4 separate regions of the Homo sapiens genome follow, and all the other regions are linked to region 2. The links are contacts of gene promoters, found by promoter capture Hi-C in blood cells and fetal thymus (Javierre and others, 2016). All regions are on one chromosome and are shown on one strand. Each heading gives the region's core, a stretch centred on a gene start or on the middle of the fragment in contact. The rest is flanking DNA. Distances are from core to core; before and after follow the strand shown. Region 1 has its middle 31 kb from the start of HMCN1. Region 2 holds the start of PRG4 (proteoglycan 4). Region 3 overlaps LINC01350 (long intergenic non-protein coding RNA 1350). Region 4 overlaps PLA2G4A (phospholipase A2 group IVA).

Evidence for each region. Contacts are between HindIII fragments. The CHiCAGO score rates a contact against its expected background, and 5 or more counts as called.
Region 1: a fragment that was not itself captured here is called in contact with the fragment with the promoter of PRG4 in region 2 in 1 of 17 cell types (M2 macrophages); the score reaches 5.9 in M2 macrophages.
Region 3: a contact is called between a fragment that was not itself captured here and the fragment with the promoter of PRG4 in region 2, in 1 of 17 cell types (non-activated CD4 T cells). The highest score is 5.3, in non-activated CD4 T cells.
Region 4: a contact is called between a fragment that was not itself captured here and the fragment with the promoter of PRG4 in region 2, in 1 of 17 cell types (total B cells). The highest score is 6.1, in total B cells.

What each region holds. Positions count from the first base shown.
Region 1 is chr1:185,702,173-185,704,872 of GRCh38, reverse strand. No RefSeq gene overlaps it. Among named protein-coding and RNA genes, the nearest start is that of HMCN1, 31 kb to the left of the region's middle. The HindIII fragment of the contact is 2,278 bases long and covers 191-2,468 here.
Region 2 is chr1:186,294,985-186,297,684 of GRCh38, reverse strand. It overlaps PRG4 (proteoglycan 4), which reads right to left and starts at 1,406. Exons shown (of 13, transcript NM_005807.6): 1 at 1,392-1,406; 2 at 734-839. The coding sequence starts at 809. The HindIII fragment of the contact is 3,679 bases long and covers 18-2,700 here.
Region 3 is chr1:185,562,816-185,565,515 of GRCh38, reverse strand. LINC01350 (long intergenic non-protein coding RNA 1350) reads left to right here. Exons shown (of 4, transcript NR_110793.1): 3 at 2,188-2,348. The region is part of intron 1 of LOC107985239 (a long non-coding RNA gene); the gene reads right to left. Among named protein-coding and RNA genes, the nearest start is that of LINC01350, 64 kb to the left of the region's middle. The HindIII fragment of the contact is 2,664 bases long and covers 97-2,700 here.
Region 4 is chr1:186,986,669-186,989,471 of GRCh38, reverse strand. PLA2G4A (phospholipase A2 group IVA) reads right to left here. Exons shown (of 18, transcript NM_024420.3): 18 at 491-1,095. The coding sequence ends at 964. Among named protein-coding and RNA genes, the nearest start is that of LINC01036, 100 kb to the left of the region's middle. The HindIII fragment of the contact is 231 bases long and covers 1,281-1,511 here.

The DNA.
Region 1 (2,700 bases), core at 80-2,579, 590 kb after region 2:
CTGACATTCCTTTATTAAATTGCTTATAAATGCCTAAGTCCTCAAATGCTTTTGCAACCAGCATAAACATCTTACTGATTCCTTCTTTAATAGATAAGCTGAATAGAATCTTTGACTTGTTTATTTTATATTTGCATGCAACTCATGGTTTTCATTTTCTTAAAATTATGTTAGTAGCTTTGAGAAAGCTTAGTAGAAAAAATAATTACCATAGTTAATATTTTAGAAAGTGAAAAATTATTTAGCAACATGAATGATCACTTTCTAATTAATCTCTTATAGCAGCCTTTTCTATGTGTTTTCTCATACCTGAGCATTCTTGTGTTCAGGCCACTGGCATGAGCAAGTACAACTGCCACTTGCTGCAGCAAGATAAGTCGGCTGAAGTTCTAAAGTCTCTTATACAGCTGTATGAGTAATGAGTTCAAAAATCACTCTAACAATTGCTATTGGCTTCCCTTTCTTTGCTTATTCCAATCCTTATTAATGGTCTGAGAGATAAGGCTCCTGTTACCACATGCACACAATGTCTGGCTAGCATCGCACATACGAGATATGGTTTCATTCCAGTTTTCCTGCCACCAGGGGAAATAAACAACAAAGTTGGACTCTGAAGGAATGGGCTTGTTGGTTTAGCCCATTTTGCACCTTGTTAATGTCTTACTCATCCATATAGTGACCATCTGGCAACACTTGGAGCCAGATTTCTGCTTAATTAAGTCATGTGAATTATCAGAGGCTTACATACCCAAAATTTAGAAGAAACAAAGGTGTGGACAATTCTAATCTGAATTTATTATTGTGTGACTTATTCAAAGTCAGATGATGCATATTTTCATGGACAAAAAAGTTGAGGTATATGATGAATTCTATAGATTCAAAATAGTAAGAACAGAAAAGGTATAAAAGGGAAAGTTATTCTCTTCACAGAAGGATTCTCCATGGTAAAAAATAATTCATAAAAGACCTTTTAAGGAGCAAAACCCCCTAATACTCTAAACTTTTCTTTTTCTCAACACAAATGCTTAAAGCAGTGTGGTACATTAAGCAAGACTTTGGCACAATTAGTAGTGTGCCACCTTAGAGAAACCTATTCATCTCACTCGGATAGGATTTCCTTATCCAAGGAATAAAGAAGCAGACCTAGTAGAACTCTAAGACACCAGCAAGTTCCATTTTATGACTTACAGACAGCTTTTTGAGAGGACACATTACATAAAATAATATATTCCTGAAGTAATGTGAGGAAAACAATTGCCAGAGGATGTCCATAGGGTCAACTCATTTGACTTAAGGAGAAAGGACCATGTCCTGTGATAGATCTACTCATGCTGCTAACTCCTTTTGTCTAACAGACAGAATAGAAAAAGAACACCAAATGAAGCAAGTTTTAAGGGTCTTAATTAGAGCTTTACCAATGACTAGTTGTTTGGTCTTGGGCATGTCACTTTGCCTCTTACAAAATGAAGACTTAAACTAATTCTCTCTTCCAGCACTAATTTTCATTGTCTACTCAATCGAAAGGTATTTAGTTAGTTGCAGGGGTAGCTAGATCTAGCCTATATTTTCCATTTACTGACACTGCTAGTAGGCTTTAGACACATGAATCCCAGCTCTGATGCTTACAAGCCTTATAACTTTGGGCAAATCAATTAAATTTGTAGACCCTCAGCTTCCTCATCTGTAAAATGAGAACAAAGATGCTATCTATAGCATATATTTTAAAGATTAAATGGCTAAGTTATTTAAACTGCCTGATACGGTAACTAGTATGTAGTTTTCACTCAATAAGCAGTAGTTGTTTTCAATGTTACAGCCAAGTTATGGTAAGACTTCTGAGCTGAAGAAAAAATGTTGCATAATTATGTTTTAAACTCTATCTTCAAACTGTTTATACTCTTTTTGATTCAGTGCAACTCGCTTGTAAATTCAAGATACTCTGTCTAGAATTGAAATTAAATTTTGGCTGTCACAATAATTCTGTTTCATGAGTGTACAAAGATTTAATAATACGTTTGTAATATTTTATTAGCTGCAAATGGAAAATACTACATACCTGTCTGTGGCTTTTCATAGTATTTTTTTAAGTCACTAAGCTAAATGTTTTCATTGACAATTATATAGGATGACAATAAGAGAGGATTAGGGTTGAACTGTTGAAGAAGAATGTTCCCTAAGCAAACTGTAAAGTCTCTTCAGTTGAAATAAATGTTTCAAAATAATGTTTGCATAATGTCAGTATTAATATTAATTCAATGATGTATTATTGTTTATAGGCCCTGAAAAATGTGGGTGGTGTGGACTTTTAGAAGCCGATTTGAGTTTCAATTTTTAAAATTTAAGCATTAAGCCTAAGATCTCAAGAAATGTGAAATGCACATTAGCTAAGAATTGTCCAATTTTATAAATTGATTCATAAAAGTTTATTATGACTTTTGTCCAAAGTCCAAAATAAATAACTCTAAGCTTAACATTGGTAACATTTCAGCTTTAGTTACTGTATAGTTATTTTCATTTAAGAGTGTATCAGTAATTTATCACTCTCTAATGCCTGACTCTATTACGGAACTTACTACTGTTGTGAAGGGGAAAAAAAATCCCTCTTAAGTGCATTGTGTCCAAAGAACATTTAGATTTTAAGAATAAAATAAATCTTCAAAATCATAAAAACAGGTGGTGAAAATGACAATACTACAATTT
Region 2 (2,700 bases), core at 157-2,656:
AAGAAAAATCCAAAGCTTGGCATTGTTACTATTAATCCCCCTAGATGGCATGCTAGCATCTTTTACTAATGTGATTTCACTGAATGTACTTTAACAGTCTCTAAAAATGAGTAACAAGAACTATTCATCCAGGACCTGTTTTGGGAGAACTGTGAAAAGTTTAATGTTATAACACAAAATGACAGTCACATCTGTATATGTCCATACCTGGATAAATAGTTCTTGTAAGAAAAAGAGAACATTTTCAAGACTAATAAAATGCCATTTGAAACACTATAGTTTATTATAATATGGTATCTATGTCTAAATGATGCCAAAATAAGTTATTTATCAATAATTTATTTGATTTTAAAAAACAAATTGTTCAACATATAGGCAAAAATTACATGTTATCTAAATATTGTTCTTTTTTAGTTATTTTTATGATACTATATAGCTCCAGCATAATTTTATGATGAACTGTCTGCACTTTTTAAACTTTCGAGAGAACCATAGAAATAACAAGTACCAAAATTATTCTTTATACAAGCTCAAAACTCTCAAAAGGAGAAAAAGATGAGAATTCCAAAGCACTTACAAACAGGCTACATGTTATATATTATTTTAAGGTTGTACAGTATATTAAACTCAAGCAAATATAAATTTTTAGAAATATATTTCCGTTGTTATAAAAATCAAGACTGAATGATTAGCAATAGTTGTTAAATAAAAGTATGTTCGATGGTTAAGCTACCTTGAGATGAAACTTGCTGAATCACGAAAACAGACAGCAGCAACAACAGGTAAATGGGAAGTGTTTTCCATGCCATCGTTGTTTTCAGGTACCGTAGGTACCCTTGCTGAAAATAAAATAAAAGTATCAGAAAACAGCTCTTTCATCTCACCACTAACTTAGGCTTGCATTATACACATTTCAGTAACTTTAAAAATGTAACAATAATAAAACCATCCCATTCTTGAAACAAGACTTTAAATCAGCTTTAATTTTATAGAAAATATTTGGCCATTAGACTTAATCTTATGCAGAACAAATCAAGTCACCCTCAGCCACGTTATTGACAGTTTTAATTCTTAAGAAATCTCCAATATAGAATAGACTTATCTTAAAACTCTAGCCAAAGTATGGCATGTACTTAACAGTGCAAGGTTAAAATTTTATCTTAAGGAAAATAATAACCTGTGTCACAGAAATGTAATTTAATAAGCATCATGGAGTTACTGTTCCAACTTTTTCTTAATTCTCAATATAAATTCAAAGGCTTCCAACAGGTGTATTGCATAAACATAATCCTTTTCAAAAATTTCCAACTACTATCTTTACACATTTTTTTTCAAACACCTCTAATGAAAACACATTTAATTCTATGAAGCAAGTTAACTTTGACACTTACCCGTAAAGGATAGATGAGTTTATCCCACGTCCTGGGAGTCTTATATATCAGTGCAAATACAGTGGGATGAACCAATTAGTCCAAAGGTTAGACAAAATCAACAGTGACAACCTATGAAATCAAACTTTCCTCATTTATTGGAAAAGGGCCCAGACGACTAGACTTAGGCAACATCTGGAAAACACTTCCATTAAGCAAAATGACTACCACAAAATAAATTTAGATGTATTGGCCAGAGCACATTTCTAATTTCTAAGTGAAGTGAACAAATTGTCCTGAGATGGTAAATAGCTCTGGCAGACTTTGACTAGTATATTGAAGCAGCAACTTTAAAATATTCACATACTGGTATCATTTATTTCTTCTGCTTTCCAGTTAAATCTAGCAAAGGTAGCTTTGAAATTTACCTAGTGTTAGCTTGTGGCATACATTTTATATACTTATACCATTATATCAAATATACATTTCTTGAGTAGTTTCATTTTCTCTGAGCACAGAAAACATGCTCTCAGTTACCTACAGGTAGATTATTGACACTGGATTTTCTAGCTTCCTTTATTATTTTAAAAATCTGCTTAAAAAATGTATTGATATTTTCCTTAGATCCTTCCTTTAAGATAAGCATGTTTGGAAAAGGTCTTTTAAATTACTAATTTTGTTTCCTTCCCACAATGAAAATGTGAACCATCACCATTGCAGAGCTAAGTCAGCTCAGCCCAAGGCTTTACCCCACTTTCATACGGAATGTATCGGTGTAAAATCTTACCCACCAACATAAGGCTTCGCTCATGTCCTAGCACCTCCCTGAAACCTTTCCAGATCAAATTCCAATCACATCTAGAATTATAGTAAACAATTGTACTACGTTTTACTAAAATATCTCTTCATCTGTCTCACACCCCCAACAGACTATGATTTCCCTAAGGACAACCAACACCTATATGTTAGTCTATTGCCAACATACAGCCCAGTTGTTTCACCAATGTTATATGTTTAAAACATGCTCACGCCGGGTGCAGTGGCTCACCCCTGCAATCCCAGCACTTTGGGAGGCTGAGGTGGGCAGATCACCTGAGGTCAGGAGTTTGAGACCAGCCTGACCAACATGGTGAAACTCCCTCTCTACTAAAAATACAAAAAATTAGCCGGGTGTGGTGGCAGGCGCCTGTAATTCCAGTTACTCGGGAGGCTAAGGCAGGAGAATCACTTGAACCTGAGAGGCAGAGGTTGCAGTGAGCTGAGATCACGCCACCGCACACCAGCTTGGGCAACAAGAGCAAAACTCAGTCTCAAAAAAAAAAAAAGAAAA
Region 3 (2,700 bases), core at 179-2,678, 730 kb after region 2:
TTCCGGACATAATCAGCCACACGGCAGAGTGAATTCCAGGAGGTATGTGTCAGGCAGGATCCCATCAAACTCATTGCTTTCAATACTTCAAAAGCTTGTTTTAGAAACACCATTACGGAGAATTGCCTGAAGGATTGAAAATCCAGACATTCCACTGCATACTCTAAAATCTGTCTTTGGGTGGTTCCAGGCCAGCAGAGATTTTCATACCTAGACTGTCTCATTTAGTTCTTGCCATCTTTTGATGACTTTTAAAAATGTGTATATTCATACCTTACTTTGTTCTGTAAAGAATTTAAGATAGGAATTTTTATTGAATTGAGCTGTGAATTTATGCCATCAGCCTTTATCTGAGGAACATTATAGGAAGCACTTCTATGAAATGCCTGTCAAGATACTATTGAGAATGTGGCTCATTACATTTCGAAGTATCCTCCTTAGGAAAACCCACTGGAAAAACTTCCCTCTTGCCTTCATACAAAGAAGCATTGAGCTTGTCTTCTGGCACTGGCTTGTTGTATCTTATGGACACTGATTCACTTATTGGACCATGTTTTTCTCTAGGCACAAAGCCAACTGGGGGCCCTTGCCCATCCACCATACAGAACCTCTCAGCATGCATTTTGTGGATTCACTTCTAGATTTACCATTCTTTCCCTACCCCTATTTTCTCTGTATTCATAAATCTCCACTTTATACATTTTTAAATTTGTTAACGTATATAGTACACTAAGTAAATATACCACGGTGCAGAGTAGCACCTCTCCTGCCAGAGGATGGAGAGAGGCAATATACCCCGTAGGGGCTGGACACATATTCTACCCATTTAGATCCAGAAGGAAACTTGAGCCTCTCTTCTCATAGAGAAAGAGTAGGGTAAAATCACAGACCACCACTATCCATCAGACCACTCTCATCCATGGGAGGGTAACTTTTAGGGAAAGCATTTTGGAGTGTCATGTAATACCACCCAATTTTCCTATATACTCATAAGATTAAATACTCAGTACTTTTCAAAAATGAAAATAAGAAACAAAAGTTCATTGTTAAACCCCAATGTTTACTTTATCCCTTGCATACGATGAAAATAATCTACTTCCCTGAAGGAAAGTGCTGACTTTCTCTATTGGCTCTGTAAGTCCTGGAGCAGGTGGTCCCTGCAGCAGAGGGAACGGAATGAGAAGACCCTTACAGTAGCCAACTGACTATTCTAGAACTCCTGGGAGAACCATACCTCATTATTCACCTAGAATGGGCCCAGCTTGTTCTAATTTCATTTGGCTCCTTGCAGAAACACTCTTCATTGTCTAAAACTTTGGGTGGCTGTGAACTTCAGCTTTGCCCCTTAACTCTCCTCTGACCCTTTTCTTGACCCACTATTTTGCTCACTATATTTTTGCAATATACACTTGGCTTGGGCCACCAAAAAAACTCACCCCTGCCTGGTCCATGGCTACTCCCTTGAGCTCAGCTGAACAGCTCACCCTGGCTTTAAAACTGGAAGTCCCACATCCCTGGAAACTTCTCAGTCCTAGGCAAAGGAGGGATGGTTGGTCACCCTACTCCCAGCCCACACTGATCATGCAGTAAATCAATGGCAGAACCAGAACCTTATTTATTTTATTCCTTTATATATTATTATAAAGCTCATATAATAATAACATATGAAGGACTATAACAATTATATGTTATATAACATATATTATTAATTATATATAACATATTATTAATTATATATTTTGATATGCATATAATAAAATATACAGGAATATAATAGATAAGTATATTATATATAAAGGAATAAAAATATGTTTACAGAAATATACATAAACAAAATTTACATATGCATATATATTTTACAGTACATAACTTCTTAAAAGACAACACTGTAAGCAAATTTCACAGAATTAAGTTATTTAACTGTGTAAGAACAACATGGCAATATCCATAGCAAAATTTTAATCTCATTCTTTTCCCCCATGATCCTTCATGCTTCAGAAATGCCTCTGCTGCCTTTTACCACTGTGTGTTCAAGTAATAGGAATAAATGTCTAAAATTAGTCCAAAGAAAATGAATTAAGGAAACATATCTGTTATCTAAAAAATAAACTATGAATTCTAACACCCCCCAAATGATTTTAGGATTATCCAATTTTATAAAATCTCTCTCTCTCCTCCTTCCTTTAGTGTAAATAACAAGAGCTGCCTATAAATCTACCTCAGAAGACAAAGGGAAAAGCAAAACTCTGCCCAGGAAGACCTTACTTTACAAACCAGGTGACCAAATTTCTAAAACATCATTCCCGTAATCCCTGATCAACAGAAAGGAAGCTCTGGAAGCATGAATGGTCAGTACACACATCGTCCACAGGACTCACACACCACAAACTAGTCATTGATCCTTTTGACCCAATTTCAGAAAATATGTTTACATAGAGACACATATTTTTGCTATTTACTTTTTGAGCAACCAACAGGAAAACCTATCCACATATGTCCATTATGATCCTCTCTAATGAAGACTATCTCTTTATGTTGTTTAAACAAAAAGAAATTAATGCATGAGAATGTCAAAGTTCTGAGCTTTAAGTTTCTGTACTCAATATATTGAATAAAAGATATATGTAGTATACATTGGAATAGAAAGAGATTAACTCAGTGCGTCATCGAGCACCTAGTTCTGGGGGTGGTATAATCATT
Region 4 (2,803 bases), core at 147-2,646, 690 kb before region 2:
TTATATATTCATCTTTCAGAAAAAAAACCTATGATTTAAAATTAAAAGTTTCAGCCAGGCGCGGTGGCTCACACCTGTAATCCCAGCGCTTTGGGAGGCTGGGGCGGGCAGATCAAGAGGTCAGGAGTTTGAGACCAGCCTGGCCAACATAGTGAAACCCCGTCTGTACTAAAAATCTAAAAATTGGCTGGGTGTGGTGGCGGGCACCTGTAGTCCCAGCTACTCGGGAGGCTGAGGCAGGGGAATCGCTTGAACCTGGGAGGCGGAGCTTGTGGTGAGCCAAGATCACACCACTGCACTCCAGCCTAGGTGACAGAGTGAGACTCTGTCTCACAAAAAAATTAATTAATTAATTAAATTAAATTAAAAGTTTCACACTTGAGTTTAGGATGAACAACTTTTGCGTTTGAAAGCAGTGAATATGAGAATCTTTCATAGCAATAGTCCAATATCTCATTAAAAATTAACAAAAAACTCAGTTATCTCATGCTTATTTTTATATTGATGTATTTATTTCATGTATGTATATATATGCATATATAAATAAAAATAGTGTTGTCTCATGGTATGAATAAATCTAGTCAGTGAATAACATTCATACATAATGCGAGGTCTTATTGAGATTGAACTGTTAAATATTTTAAAAGAAAAAAAATTTTTAAAAAGAACACACATAAGAAAGTTGGTGAGAAATGTTTAAAAATACAGTATATATCCCTACATTTGTATCAGGAAGTTCATACTGACTGAAAATGTAGCTAAGTATATCCTTACATAATCAACATCATTTGTCAACCTAACTTATAATAGTATTATTCTCATGCAGCTAAGTAACTGCAACTTTGAGTATCAGCCAGTCTCTCATGATCAGTACGACTATCTGTACTGTACTTTTAAATCCAGTTGTCATGGGATTGCAAACTGCCTCAGCATCAGAAACTGCTGCCATTTCCAGTACATGAACTATGCTTTGGGTTTACTTAGAAACTCCTTGTTGAAAAATCTTCTTGCCTCAACATTACTAAGGGAAACAGAGCAACGAGATGGATTCTGTCTTCTATATTCAATGCTTTCAACCATGGCTTCTTTTATCACCTGCAAATAGAGACAGAAGTTGTATAATTAGCGCTGCTATGAACTCATTTATATATTTTTTATTAAAATAAAAATCAAATGAATCTTTTTATTAGAGTATTCCTTTTGACATATATGAATAGAAATCTACGAGTCATGCATACACATTTAAATTCAACATCCCACCACTGCACTCTTGTTAAGCTTATATTCAGCTACTGTTCCTTCCCTCACCAGGGAAAGAAGGATTCTGGAAATGTTCTAGATTTTATGCTGATAAATTTGGGAATAAAGTGGTAGCATGGTAAAATTATGTTGGTTCTGCTCTTTGCCAAAAGGGGGATAACAGGGAAGAAACAAGTAATTACTAAATCTATAATTTATGTTCTTTATAATTAGTGGGCAAGTAGAAAAAGACCACCAGGAAAGTAAAAGCTTTTCCTAGTGGAGGAAGAAGGCATTGCTGGAGAATTGCCTTCCTTCCTCAACTGAAACAATACAGTTATAAAACATGAGCCTCCTCTATCTAGGAAACATCATGCTCTGTGATTTCATTGGTGAAAATGAATTACTACTTTTTATTCAGCATACATATATCCAATATATATTCTTTACATATACCCATGTTAATGGTAACCAGAAGAAAACACAGGAAACTACAACCTCTAAGAACTGCTATTTCAACTGTCATACACTGGTTTTGGTATGAAGTTAACCTAGTTAGAATTTGGGGAAAGAAGAGAACATTCAGAATTTGGTAGATGCAGTTATTGAAGAGCAGTGGAAATGGGCTTTGGAAGAAGGCCTGAATAGTAAATCTTGTCTCTGCTTCTGCTTCAGAACCTTGTTAAAATCAGGAAGACTCCATTTCCCAGGACAGTCCTCATTTCATCTCGATGACCAATGAGATAGATGTTTCTGGGCATCAGGAAACCGAGGCAAGTCACAGAGTTATTCCACAATTCCTTTTATTCTCTACCTCAGGGATTGTTAAGCAACATTAAGGTACAGTCCACGGGCTTTTCAGCCCCTTGCCACAGGTAGGAATACTTGGCAAGTCTGATCAGTTTAGGACGCTATGGCCTCCTCTCACTCACAACTGCTGTGGCCCACTTGGCCTTGGAGATGCATGCTCAGAGGGATTCTCCCATTACCACGTGCAAGCTCACTGGGCAAGCATGGCTCATTGCCTGAAGGAGATCATGTTTGCACCACTTAAACATGTGAGATCTAAATGGTGCAAACATGCAATTATTTTTCTGTGACTTTATGTCCCAGACACCCAACAAGCAAGGCTCTCTATTCTCTAATAGTAACTTTAAAAACGCAGTCAGATTTTGGAAAAAGGGAGCTATCACAGGAATGTGGTTCTTTTATATGCCTTATTTTAAAACGTAATATATGTAATTATCTTCTCGGGAAATGGGCTCAAACGTGAATGAGTCCGTTAAGGTAAAGCTGATATTTGCTGATCCCACTTTTCTTAAGAATAGGGAAACATAATTCTGTGATGACAAAAGATGCTTCAGATCTATGAAGGAGACTTGGACCAAAGGCTACCAGGCACAAACACTTCTTGGCTGTGTGAGATGGAGGGCAATTAGTGTCAATACTTGAGCCCATTTCTTCTTCTTTAAAATGGAAATAATGTACTAATTTGGGGTTTTGTGGGGATTGGAGATCATTTCTATAAAGTGCTTGGCACAATACCTGGTACATAAACATTCTA